Regions from separate parts of the Homo sapiens genome. Here region 2 is linked to region 1. The links are contacts of gene promoters, found by promoter capture Hi-C in human tissues and cell types (Jung and others, 2019). All regions are on one chromosome and are shown on one strand. The core of a region is centred on a gene start or on the middle of the fragment in contact, and the rest is flanking DNA. Distances in the headings are between cores, read along the strand shown. Region 1 holds the start of CD9 (CD9 molecule). Region 2 overlaps TNFRSF1A (TNF receptor superfamily member 1A).

Region 1 (6,777 bases), core at 2,742-5,241:
TATTATTATTTATAGATTTAGGGGACACGAATGTAGTTTTGTTACACATGGTGAAGTCTGGGCTTTTAATGTGACCATCACCAACATAGTATACATCGTACCCAATATTGGTTCCTATTTTGGGTTGTGTAGGAGAGTTCTATTGTTGTATGTGGTATGTGTAGGGGTGTTGGGTTCATAGACTGAGCTTGAAAGGACCTTTTGAGACCATTTGTTCCAAGCTATTGTTTTACAGATGAGGAAACTGAGGCTTAGAGCACAGAAGTGACCAACCCAAGGTTTCAAAGTGAGTTGAGGACAGAGCTGGGCTCACATCCAGGTCTCTGAATTCCCAGTGTAGGTCTCTGTGTTTCGCACCAGCCTCCCCTAGGTCTAGGGGATATGGTTTCTTGGGAAAGAGACCTCCCAGCCCCACACTGCTGTTTCCATCAGTGAGCGAGGCATGAGAGACAGTAAGCAAAGGGGCTGAGGGAGGTGGGGAGGGGATTGGGCTCTGTCAGTATAGCCAAACCTTTCCCTCTTTTGCCCTAAGGAGTTCCTCCCCTTCTCTGACCAGAAAGAGGGCAGACATGCATGTGTCAGACTGGACTGGCCCTAACCCTGGTTCCCCATTTCAGCTGGAGAAATACTTGTGTGTCTACCACATGGACATCAGCAAGATGTTTTCCCTCTCAACTGTTTTTTGGGGGGTGGGCAGGCGGGCAGGGAGGTCTGAAGGAAATGTAGAAACAATCAAAATAGAGCTAGGAGGGCCGGTTCTGGAGGTGGTGGAAGAACAGACTGATTTGCTGGTTTGGCTGTGGCCATCAGGGAGTGACCCACAGGGATGAGATCAGGCCAGGGAAGAGGCACAGCCCCCCAATAACCATCCTACTCCACTGAGGTTGGCCTCTCTCTGGATGCCTGTTGGACACCCCCTCTCAGCAGCCTCTGTGCAAAGTGCTGCTGGGCACTGGCCTCACAATTCCTGCTTTTCAAGGCCCACATCAGGTTCCGAATGCCAAGTTTATAAATGTCTGGTCTCAAGAGAGAAACGGACGTGGTGACAACATAATCACCCAAGCAGTTCCCTTAGGTTACACCTTTCCTTAAGGGAGTCTTGGGAGCTTCTTCCCACCCTTCTCCCATTCCCACTCAGCAGCCAAAACCAGTTGGGTAAAGTAACCTAGTTCTGAGACCACCCTGCCGCATCACCTTGGATAAGTCACCTAACCTCTCTGGGAAATGGTTTCCTGATCATCAGTACAGTGGGGACAATGCTTCCTGCTCTTGGCTACATCATGGGACTAGAACAAGAAAGGCTCTAAAGACTAACACTCTGCACAAGTGGACCGACCACAGTCTTCCTTTTCATTACATCATCTCCTAGGGATGAGGGCTTCATCTCCACAGGGACCCAGATACAGGACAAATGAACAGTAATTCAGGAAAACATAGCTACTGCCCATCTTCCTGCCTCTGATGAAGATGGAAGAGGACAGAAGTAAAGTAGGGGCCCCAGGAATTGTAATACTGGCTCTGTCTCTGCGATCCTGGGTAAATCACCCCATCTCTCTTCCTCTGCTGCCTCACTATGAATAAGAGAGCTGGACTGCATGATCTTCAAAAGTCATTCCAAACATTTCCAGTGTGAGTGATTTCTGTTTCAGACTACATAGGTCATCAGCTGCACCTAGGCTGGGGCCAGGCATAGGGGGTTCTGAATACGAGTGGGGTGGCAGGCTGAGGACAGTACGGACAGATTGCAGGCCAGCAGGCCACAGACAGAGTAGATACCAGTGGCCCTGTGAGCCTCGCATCAGCTTCCTGCATATGCCATGGGGCAGATGGGGGTAGGGAGGCACACTGTGGCAGTCTGTGTTTCCCTGCAGTCCCAAACCTGGATGCAGTCTAGGCAGACAGCTGAGGACTAACCAACACACCAGCCGGGAGAGACTGTACCTGGGAGGGGAGAGGAAAACTCCCAAAGTTCAAGGGTGGGTGAGGCCAGCTGCCTTCCCGCATACTTTTCTGCTGCCAGGGATTGGTGAAAGAAAGAAGCTAAGCGTGGCAGCTGGGTGGTTGCTGGGGTGGGTGGCAACACAGGAGGAGGGGTGCCCACGGCCAGCAGGGTCTTTTTAAAGCAAGTCAAGGGTTGGGAAGGAGCACACCTATATGCCGTCCTCACTGGGGTGTGTGTTATGGTGACTGATGCACTGGGGGAAGTCAGTCTCTGCAAATTGGAAAAACTGTTCAACCACCCCTTCAGCTCTGGGGAGGAGTGAATCTTAGAAGATTTCCCTAAGGAGGCTTGTGGGGACCTCAGTGACCAGCTCCAGGGGGAATAAGTGCATTTGTTTCTTTTCTACTTTTTTTGAGACAGGGCTCACTAGGTCACCCAGGCTAAGTGCAGTGGTGCAATCATGACTCACCGCAGCCTTGACCTCCCAGGCTCATGCCATCCTCTCATCTCAGCCTCCTGAGTAGCTGCGATCACAGGTGCATGCCAACACGCCCAGCTAATTTTTTATTTTTTTGTGGAGATGGGGGTCTCACTATGTTACCCAGGCTGGTCTTGAACCTGGATGAAAGCGATCCTCCTGCCTCAGCCTCCCAAAGTGCTGGGATTACAGGCATGAGCCACTGTGCCTGGCCAAGTGCACTTTTTTGTTACAAGACTCTGGTGGCATGCACCTGTTTCTACATCCATCTATCTTGAGAGTGGCATAGAGACTCTCTTCCTGCCTGCAGAGCGGCAAGTATTGTCATGTGTGTGCAGGGAATGTGGCTATAGAAACAAGGACACAAGGGTTTCCTATTCCTTGCTTCTGTCGCCTCTCAGCCTTCCCATTTGTAGAGGCTGAGTGGCCTGCAGCAGGTGTCTCTGGAGCTCCTGGCCCCGCTGGCCTCTCCAGATGAACGTCCGCTCTGCGCCCTGCCTGGCCTTGGGTGGGCCGCCTGGGCTGGCGGGGAGGGGAGAGGGCAAGGCCAAGGCTCTCCTGGGCGGGCAGCTGGCTGGCACCTGATCTCTCCCGGAAATGCACACACAGGACTCATCCCACTAGAGGCGCAGATAGGTATCTGCCCCCTCCTCTCCCGAACTCTGAGTTCTCTCCAGTGAAGATACTTATCGTCCTTGAAAGAAATCAAGACAAGCTAGTCTTTCAGGGAGCTACCAGGGAGTTCGGCGCTCTCACGGTGGCTCAGAATCAAAGTCTGAGGGAACGGGGGCCTGCGAGGTTCCTCCTCAAGGGTGGAGGGGCCCCCGACTCTCAGGGACTGGGTCCCGGGGCCGGACCCGCGGCCGAGGCACCCCTGCCGCTCCTGCGTAAAAGTGAGAGCCGCTCTTGGCTGAGCTCTCGCCGTGCCCGCACCCTCCCTTCCTGGCGCCCCCTACTACCTGGGAGACCCCACCCGGTCACAAGCCATACTGCTCACCACAGTCCTCCTTGGCCTTGGCCCAAAGAGGGGTGCTCCGCTTCTCCCTGCCTTCCTCTCTGGCACTCGGAGGGACTTGAGCTGGGAGCAGACACACACCCCAGCTCAAATCCTAGGCGAGCTAAAGTGCTCAGGACCCTCCCGCACGCCTCATCTCAAGAGGGCCCGGCTCCCCACGCCGGCTGGGCGGTGATGAGCCCCCACCCGAATGCGCCCGTCGCGGCCGTCCCGCCCGGCTCTGGACCCGGCCTTGGAGCCAGCTGGCAGCCGCAGGGCGCTCTCTCTTCCCGCCCGGTGCCTGCCCGGTGCGGGCAGTGCCAGCTGCCGGCACTCGCGGCCGCGGCCAGTGTCCGGGGCCCGCGAACAGGTGGGCCCTGAGAGGAGCGCGCGGCAGTCGCGCTCACTCACCCAGAAGATGAAGTTAAATCCGAACAGCAGGTATTTGATGCACTTGGTGCCTCCTTTGACCGGCATGGTGAGGGCTAACTTAGCCTGGGCCGAACGGGTGCGGGACTGGGGGGCGCGCGCAGCTGGGACTGGCGGGACCTGGCGCTGGATACAGATGCAGGCGGCTGTAGGCTGGTCTCCGGCTGCACTTTTAAAAAGTGCCACTCCTTAGGGCGCGCGACCCGCTGCGGTGCGCATGTGCCGGGAAAAGCCGCCCCCACTCCCCCCGCCGGCCACGCCTCCCGCCCCACCGGCCCCGCCCGGGCCGCACCCCCCCCGCCCCCCGCCCCCGCCCAGGTCGGCGAGCCCCGGCCCCAGCTGCCCCGCGGAGCCCGACCCTCTCCCTGTTTCCCCGCCTAGTCGCCCTAACCCCCACCCGCCACCCACTCCTTCTTCAAGCCGTCTTGGGGTCTTTGCAGGCAGCCACTCCCTGCCACTTTTACCGCGGACTTACGTGGAGGCCTCGCCCTTCCGGTTCCCCCGCGTTTGGTCTGGGCGCCGGACCGGGCGTTCTGCTTTGGGAGACTCTTCCCCGGGTCGTCAGGGCTAAAGGCCCCTTGGCCAAGGCCTGCTGCCAGAGTGAGGGGCCCTTCTGCTTTGCGAGGATTTAAAGGGAAGCCGCCTGGCTTAATTTCGCCCTCGTCTGTCTCCTTGCAAACCTTCGCTCGCTGACCATACTTTTCATTGGGCACAGCATGTGGGGTAGGAGGAATTAGAAGCGCGCAGTCTGGGTGGGATGACAGATGGGAGGCTTTTGGAAGTAATTAGCAAATACCTATCACCGAATAATAACACAGCTGAGGGCTGGGCAGTCCCCAAGCGCTTCCTGCACTTGAGGTTTAGTTGCCCCAGAGGGAAAAAGGGTCTGTAGACGGCTTCTGTTTTCTCTCTACTCCTCCACCCCACCCTCCCTCCTGCGTCTTTGGACTTGCTCGCTGCTGCCTTGAACTGCTCCAGATGCCGAGCTCGGAGCGCTTCTCCTGAGCTCACAAACTTTCTGTAGCTCTCCAGATTCAAGGACCTAAGTCGAAATTCCTCGTCTTGCCCTCAAGGCCCTGTACAGAGCACTGATCTGACTTCTCCCGGACCCAGAGCCCACCCCACTCGCTGGCCGGCATGCGCCCTGGCTGGCTGGCCCCCCCCCAACGTCACTTGTAGGAATTCTGTGGGTCTTTAAACACTCCTTTCCTGATTCTCTGGAGTGGACGAGGAGAGTCACCTTCTTTTGAAGTCCCCGAATCCCTTTGTATTATTTTCAAAATGAAGTTTCCTTTACTGTCCTTTATGATTACAAAAGCAAGATACAGTCATTACAGAAACAACCGAAATACCAAGAAGTGAAAGGAACAGACCTCAAAATTCTGCTCACCAGAAACAGCCACTGTTAGCACATTGCTGTTATTTGCCTGTTTATTATCAGTAGACTTGTCTCATTGGTTCAAAAACATTTTTCAGTATCTATTAGGGTATTTCATTAGGGGTAGGAGCTGAAAAACATGGATTAGTCCTTGTTTCTGCTCAGGGACCAGTGTGGGAGGAGACAGGCAGCCAGACAATGGTTTGAGGGTGATAGGTGCAGTTACGGGGAGAGGCTTGGGGGCTAAGAGGCTAAGGAGAGGCCTCTGACCCAGACTGGGAGATGATGCTGCAGAACCACAGGGAAAGTTGCCGCCAAGGGAGAATCCTGGGCAAAGGCTGGGGCAGGGGCTGTCCGGGCTCTGGGCTGGAGCCTGGAGTCACGGGGTAGTTTGTGGGAAGGTGAGAAAGAGCCTTGTGCTCCTGGACTTTGCACTCTGAGCATTAGGGGCCACCGAAAGGTTCAAGCAGGGGAATGGTTGGATCTGCTGTGTTTTCAGAGGTTCTCTGCCTGTGTTTTAGGTAGTTGGGTGGGGGAAGGCCGGAGGGGCAGGTAGGAAGCCCCTTGAGGACCAGGACCATTGTTGGCATCTCCAGTCCTTGGCTCAGTGCTTTACGGGATTGCATGGAACATGGAGATGTTGTATTTGGGGAGACGCAATCAGGTAATATGAGGGGAGCAGTGGTAGATGAAAGTTGAGCTGAGGACCAGGTGCAAATCTGCTAGGAGGCTGTGGAGTAGTTCAGGTGAGAGAAGAATGAATGAAGGCGGGGCAATGGGATAAAGCCTAGAGAAGGCAGGGCAAAACCCCATGAGGTGTCAGGCCGGGAAGGGGAGGGAGAGATCAGAGGCAGAGCAGCAGAAGCTAGTAACAAGTAGGGGCACAGGGCACATCCCCACGTCAATCTGAGTCCGAGAGGCTCCCCAGAGCAGGGGACATTGCAGCAGCTGACTTGACTTGGGAAGGTGGAGTCAGTAGTCAATGCGGAGGAGGGAATTCCAAGAGGGAACTGGATATGCAAAGACACAGAAGCGGGCAGCTGGCTGCACTGGGGAAACAACCGATAGTGGTACATGGGGAGGAAGGAGGACAAGGAAGGAGAGGCAGGGCCTAAACTGAGCCTAATGCCAAGAGGACAAGCAGAGGAATTTTGGTGATGCTTGACTTTACACATCCTAACCAGTGTCCAGGATGATTCCAGCACAGGGGAGGAGTGTGAAGCACCCTGGAGGGTGGGAAGGAGGCCGGAAAACAGTCAGTGTTCCATTGTGCCCTTTTGGGCCTGCGTCCATCTATCTTGGGAGACAGGTCTTAGGAAAAGAAAGATTTTATTGCATCTCCCCCTTCTCCCAAGTTAACAAGTACTGGTGGGAGGAGTTCAGTAAATATTTAAGTTTATAATAGAAATTACTTATTAGGGTAAACGTGAGTGTTGACAGAGGAAATCCACAGGGAGGCCTTAGAACCTGCCTGCCACAGAAGCGCTGCAGAAACGCTGCCTGTTGCTCCTATTCCTATTATTGTTTACACTGAAGAAAGAATTGGGGTCAGCCTA
Region 2 (6,479 bases), core at 240-2,739, 130 kb before region 1:
CGCCTCAGCCTCCCAAAGTGCTAGGATTACGGGCATGAGCCACCACGCCTGGCCTGGGCCTTAGATTTCTTATATTTAAAGTAAGCATAATGACATTCATTTGGTGAATTTGTGAGAACCAAAAACAAAGAAACAAACAAAACCTACAACACGTCTGACACAAAACTATTTATTTTCCATTAATCTTCTTTTTTTTTTTTTTTTTTTTTTTTGACACAGAGTCCTGCTCTGTCGCCCAGGCTGGAATGCAGTGGCGCGATCTCGGCTCACTGCAACCTCTGCCTCCCAGATTCAAGCAATTCTCCTGCTTCAGCCTCCCAAGTAGCTGGGATTACAGGCACGTGCCACCATGCCTGGCTAATTTTTGTATTTTTAGTAGAGATGGGGTTTCACCATCTTGGTCAGGCTGGTCTCAAACTCCTGGTGATCCACCTGCCTCTGCCTCCCAAAGTGCTGGGATTACAGCCGTGAGCCACTGCACCCAGCCGGCTTCATCTCTTCTTGAAATCACTTTTATACCATTCTATGTGGTTCTCACCATGAGCTTGAGTGGTGGGCTAAAGTGCCTCTCCCTGCTTTCAGCTTCCTGCTGGGAACTCACTCTCTCAAGTTCCTTCCAGCACCACCCCATAGAGTTCCCATCACTCCACACTGTCCAGTGACAACTCCCAACATGGAAGATCTGCTAGTTCTACAGGGTGCTCTCTGGCTGCCCCAGTAACATGTGTTTTTAAATTTTTCACATGCATGTTTGACCCCGACTCCCCGAAGTCAGGTACTGTAACTAGCAGTGTCATTTAAGAAAAAGCCCTTTAACCTCTCTTTGCCAAAGGATTCTTATCAGCAAAACAGTGATGAAACAACAATCCCATAACAGCTAGCTGGCTACCTTCTCAAGCACTTATTAAATGAGGCATAATGATTTTGCTTAATCCTCAATCCTGAGAGGTGGGCGATCCCTGTGGTGATGAGGAAACCGAGGCTTGGGGGTTAATGGCTTGCCTAGATTCACACTGCTAGCCAAGGAATGAACTGGAATTTACACCCTGACCCTGACTGCTTTTCACATTTTCTACACAGCCTTTTCAAGATCCCTGCCAATTCTAAAATTAAATGATTCTATGATTAACTGTGTTTCATTCTTCTGCATCAGTTCCCAAAACAAATTATATCAAGAGACAGCAAAAATATTTGTAAAGAAAGGATGTCCAACAATCTGTGTGGTTGTTTTTCTGTGTTCCTCCAATGGTAGGGCCTCTGTTCACCAGTGCCGTCTCTTCTTTTAGCTGTAAGAAAAGCCTGGAGTGCACGAAGTTGTGCCTACCCCAGATTGAGAATGTTAAGGGCACTGAGGACTCAGGTGAGGAGAAGTGACCTGGTGCCCATGCTCACCTGCCCTCTCCCTCTTCTTGCCCCCACCCGTCCATCCATCCCACCCATCCATCTATCCCTGCGGCCCCCCTCTGCCCGCTCCTCTGACCAACACCTGCTTTGTCTGCAGGCACCACAGTGCTGTTGCCCCTGGTCATTTTCTTTGGTCTTTGCCTTTTATCCCTCCTCTTCATTGGTTTAATGTATCGCTACCAACGGTGGAAGTCCAAGCTCTACTCCATTGGTGAGTGGGGGCTTTGGGAGGGAGAGGGAGCTGGTGGGGGTGAGGGAGGACATGGGTGGGTGCGATGGACATGTGTGGAGGGAGGTGAGGAGTGTCCCCTCAGTTCATACCGCTGGGGACTCTGGGCAGAAGGTGGCCCTGGATGGCTGGGGAGATGTCGAGCTGCATCAGTAGCTCTCTCGTCCCTGGGGCCACATAGGCCCTGAGGCATGTCACCACAAGTCCCCACTGCCAGCTGAGTCCAGGGTGCCAGGGCTGAGAGAGGAAGTGAAATTTATGATGCTTTCTTTCTTTTTCCTCAGTTTGTGGGAAATCGACACCTGAAAAAGAGGTGAGATGAAATGAGAGAGTTACTCCCAAATGTCCCTGACCATTCCTTATAATTGCCTAATGCTCAGATCCCCTGGAATCATCCTTCACTTTCCGGGGGCTCGCCTCATTCCCTCTAAGTCCCAACCCCCACGTAGAATAAAGAGGGCCGGGGCTGGTTTTCGCTGCCGCACTAATGCTGCGCCACCTTCTCTCTTTCAGGGGGAGCTTGAAGGAACTACTACTAAGCCCCTGGCCCCAAACCCAAGCTTCAGTCCCACTCCAGGCTTCACCCCCACCCTGGGCTTCAGTCCCGTGCCCAGTTCCACCTTCACCTCCAGCTCCACCTATACCCCCGGTGACTGTCCCAACTTTGCGGCTCCCCGCAGAGAGGTGGCACCACCCTATCAGGGGGCTGACCCCATCCTTGCGACAGCCCTCGCCTCCGACCCCATCCCCAACCCCCTTCAGAAGTGGGAGGACAGCGCCCACAAGCCACAGAGCCTAGACAGTGAGTTTCTCCCGCGGCTGGAGACGAGGAGGCTGGGGGAGGGCCGGGGGAGCGCGGGAGGCGCTCCCAGAGGGGACCACGAGAGGCGGAGGGCGCGGGATGCGGGGCGGGGCCTGGGGTTGCCGCCCGAGGCTCACCGGCCCGCGTCCCCGCAGCTGATGACCCCGCGACGCTGTACGCCGTGGTGGAGAACGTGCCCCCGTTGCGCTGGAAGGAATTCGTGCGGCGCCTAGGGCTGAGCGACCACGAGATCGATCGGCTGGAGCTGCAGAACGGGCGCTGCCTGCGCGAGGCGCAATACAGCATGCTGGCGACCTGGAGGCGGCGCACGCCGCGGCGCGAGGCCACGCTGGAGCTGCTGGGACGCGTGCTCCGCGACATGGACCTGCTGGGCTGCCTGGAGGACATCGAGGAGGCGCTTTGCGGCCCCGCCGCCCTCCCGCCCGCGCCCAGTCTTCTCAGATGAGGCTGCGCCCCTGCGGGCAGCTCTAAGGACCGTCCTGCGAGATCGCCTTCCAACCCCACTTTTTTCTGGAAAGGAGGGGTCCTGCAGGGGCAAGCAGGAGCTAGCAGCCGCCTACTTGGTGCTAACCCCTCGATGTACATAGCTTTTCTCAGCTGCCTGCGCGCCGCCGACAGTCAGCGCTGTGCGCGCGGAGAGAGGTGCGCCGTGGGCTCAAGAGCCTGAGTGGGTGGTTTGCGAGGATGAGGGACGCTATGCCTCATGCCCGTTTTGGGTGTCCTCACCAGCAAGGCTGCTCGGGGGCCCCTGGTTCGTCCCTGAGCCTTTTTCACAGTGCATAAGCAGTTTTTTTTGTTTTTGTTTTGTTTTGTTTTGTTTTTAAATCAATCATGTTACACTAATAGAAACTTGGCACTCCTGTGCCCTCTGCCTGGACAAGCACATAGCAAGCTGAACTGTCCTAAGGCAGGGGCGAGCACGGAACAATGGGGCCTTCAGCTGGAGCTGTGGACTTTTGTACATACACTAAAATTCTGAAGTTAAAGCTCTGCTCTTGGAGACAGTGGTCTGTCGGGATGGGAGGTGGGGGCAGAGGCCCAGATCCTGAGGGGTGAGATGGGAAAAGCCCTGCACTAGGGCCAGGTAGCCCATCACCATCACGCCAAGTGACAGAGGAGTAGCAGGTTCTTGTTCTGAACACCGTCATCTGTTGCCCAAGCTGGAGTGCGCTCACTGCAGCCTCCAACCCTTGGGCTCATGGGGTCCTCCCGCCTCAGCCTCCGGACACAGGCACACCACCACACCTGGGTAATTTTTAAAATTTTTTTTTGTAAAGACAGGGTTTCCCTATATTGCCCAGGCTGGTCTGGAACTCCTGGGCTCAAGGGATCCTCCCACCTCAGCCTCCCAAAGTGCTGGGATTACAGGCAGCCATGCCCAGCCAGGGCAGTCATTTTTATGCACAACTTTCTGTGGGGCTCAGGTGCACCTATGATACATAAATTTACAGTTCTTGATCCCCAAACAGAGCAGGAGGCAGGGTGCCTGGGCCAGGCTTCCTTTGGGAAATGTGGTCCTTGAGGTAGAGTCACAGATGCCGGAGGGTGACCAGCACTACTGGGGAGAGATCTCCTCTGGGAGAGATGCATGCCAAAGGTCCTCTGCATTCCTCATACCTCTCTGAAAAGACAGGAGGGGGTGTTAGGCGACATTCAGTGGCAACGGGTGAGGGTCAGGTGAAGAGTGAGGCGGAGAGCCCTTCCTGCCTCAGCCCCTGTTCCTGCTTTGCCCTCTTTCTATACTACACCCCACCACCATACAGACATCCCCGTCTGCCCCCTCCCAGGCCAGCTTCCCTCCAGCACTTACGATGCGGACAGAGGGGTGTCCAGCTGAATGATGTGGGGCCCCCGCATCCTCTGCAGCTGGGCCCGAGTCAGCTTCCGTGGCCTGCTGTCCCGGGGCTCCTCGGCCCCCTCAATCCTTTGGCTGGCCAGCTCCTCCCGGATCTCTCTGAGCATGTCCTCAGCCCGCATTGGGCGCAGGGATGTGTGGCCAGCTTTCAGGAACAGAGGCCCCTCTTCTTCCTCCTCCCCTGAGGACTCCCAGGGGCTTTCCCCGGCAGAGTCAGCATGGGTTGGGGAGGAGGGAAGCTGGCCCCGAAGCCGGGCCCTGTGGAGTGTTTCCACCACCACATTCCCTCGCTCGGAGGCCCCATCTTCTTCCTCAGACCAGGTTGGTGGGTCTTCCTGGGGAAGACTGCCTCCTTTTAGGATTCCTTCCGGCAGTTCGGGGGCGCTTCGGCGTTGAGGAGCTTGGGGGTCGGGAGGGTGGGGACGCAGAGGGATGTCCCGGAGTTCCAGGGTGGAGAAGGTGAGGCGAGGGTCCCGCCGAAGGGCTCTTTGGCGTAGACGGCTCAGTGGGGAGCGGGACCCCGTGGGGGTGCCTGGGATCAAAGTGCCGTAGCCAGAGTCTGAGGTATCATCTGGCACAAGGGGAGCATCTTCATCTGTGTCTTCTGTCACCACCAGGTGGGGGATAATGGTCGAGAACTCAGGAGTCCTACAGTTAATGGCAAAGAGTCAGATGCGTAGGGGTCAAGTTCAAGTCCAGGGAGTTTCCCTTGATCACTACATCCAGAAATGGCCCCTCCTCCAAACTTATTTTGGTATCATCTTTCCATCGCACTGTGATTGTTTTTCTCATCTGGCTGGCTAGATTTTAAGCTCCTAAGAGAGTACGGGCTGCCTCTATACTGTTTTATCCATAGCATCTGGTCCAGGATCTTGTATCGAGTGGGTAGTCAGGTTTTTGCTGAGTGGTTCCTGAACTTACCTGATATTATCCTCAATGATCGATTCTTCTTTTCTCCTTAAGCTGCTGCCAAGCAGTGGTGCTATCCTAGACGAACCTCACACTCCCCGGGGATTTGGCAGCTCTAATATTCTGCAGATCCACACCTACCTTCACTCTCGAGCTTGCTCCTCTCACAGTGCTCCTGTGTGACTCTAGGCAGGCTAACTCTGTAGGCTGTCTGTGCCCTATCCCCCACCTCCAACCCAACACGGCTGGTACCAACCTTCCGACCCAACACAGCTGGTACCGAGCTTCCCTACCCTGCCCTACGCCTGCGTTCCTCTATCTATTCCCAATTCCACCAAAAATGTGCAGTAATGCCATTTCTCAGCCTTATGGCTCCCTCCTCCTGCTCGGGGAGACCTTGTAGTCCGTGTGAGCCTTACCTCCCCTCTGCGCTGCTCTGAGAGCCCTCCAGGGAAGGCGTGGAGGGCCTGGTGCTGGGGGACTCCCTGTCCTGGTCCCGATAGAGGGTCAGGAGCTCCCTCTTCTGTTGAACATACTCCTCTGCCTTCAGCTTCTGTAGGGCGGCCTGGGACAGGACACTTTCGTTATTAAGAGCTCTCATTTATTGAGCACTTGCTGTTTGCCAGGCACCCTGCTAAGTGCGTTACATATATTACCTTATTTTATTTTATTATTATTATTATTTTTTGAGACTGAGTCTTGCTCTGTCACCCAGACTAGAGTGCAGTGCCACAATCTTGGCTCACTGCAACCTCCACCTCCTGGGTTCAAGCGATTCTCCTGCCTCAGCCTCCTTAGTAGCTGGGATTACAGGCGCCCGCCAACGTGCCCGGCTAATTTTTGTATTTTTAGTAGAGATGGGGTTTCACCATCTTGGCCAGGCTGGTCTCAAACTCCTGACCTTGTGATCCACCCCCCTTGGCCTCCCAAAGTGCTGGAATTAGACGTGTAAGCCACCGTGCCCGGCCTACATTACCTTATTTAATCTTTACAAAAACCCCATGAACCAGATATTTTTACCCCACCTTACTACTGAGACATGGAGACTCTAAGGTTAAGTAACTGTCTGAGGGGGTACTTCTTACCATAAGAAAGTGGGGTGGTGCCGGGATTTGGTGGCACCAAACTCTGGAGCTAGTGTTGGGGGTGAGTGGGGTGAACAGAATGGCCCTTTTCCTACCTGTACAGGTCTTCCTGCTTCTCATGTCCCATTGGCAGACCTGTTATCAGGTCTTCCCCCTCCTTCAGGAAGCCCTCCC

Evidence for each region. The method cuts DNA at HindIII sites, captures the fragments that hold promoters and counts their contacts. A contact is called where the count stands out against the background at its distance.
Region 2: a fragment that was not itself captured here is called in contact with the fragment with the promoter of CD9 in region 1 in 5 of the 25 tissues and cell types used here (IMR-90 fibroblasts, heart right atrium, liver and 2 more).

What each region holds. Positions count from the first base shown.
Region 1 is chr12:6,197,614-6,204,390 of GRCh38, reverse strand. CD9 (CD9 molecule) reads right to left here and starts at 3,991. Exons shown (of 8, transcript NM_001769.4): 1 at 3,826-3,991. The coding sequence starts at 3,891. RefSeq lists enhancers at 1,444-2,055, 2,056-2,668, 3,895-4,506, 4,507-5,119. The HindIII fragment of the contact is 17,720 bases long and covers 1-6,777 here.
Region 2 is chr12:6,325,734-6,332,212 of GRCh38, reverse strand. It overlaps TNFRSF1A (TNF receptor superfamily member 1A), which reads left to right. Exons shown (of 10, transcript NM_001065.4): 6 at 1,287-1,360; 7 at 1,502-1,615; 8 at 1,918-1,946; 9 at 2,147-2,435; 10 at 2,591-3,442. The coding sequence ends at 2,901. PLEKHG6 (pleckstrin homology and RhoGEF domain containing G6) reads right to left here. Exons shown (of 16, transcript NM_001384598.1): 14 at 5,640-5,785; 15 at 4,267-4,959; 16 at 3,707-4,077. The coding sequence ends at 4,068. Among named protein-coding and RNA genes, the nearest start is that of TNFRSF1A, 13 kb to the left of the region's middle. RefSeq lists an enhancer at 1,846-1,975. The HindIII fragment of the contact is 7,903 bases long and covers 1-5,440 here.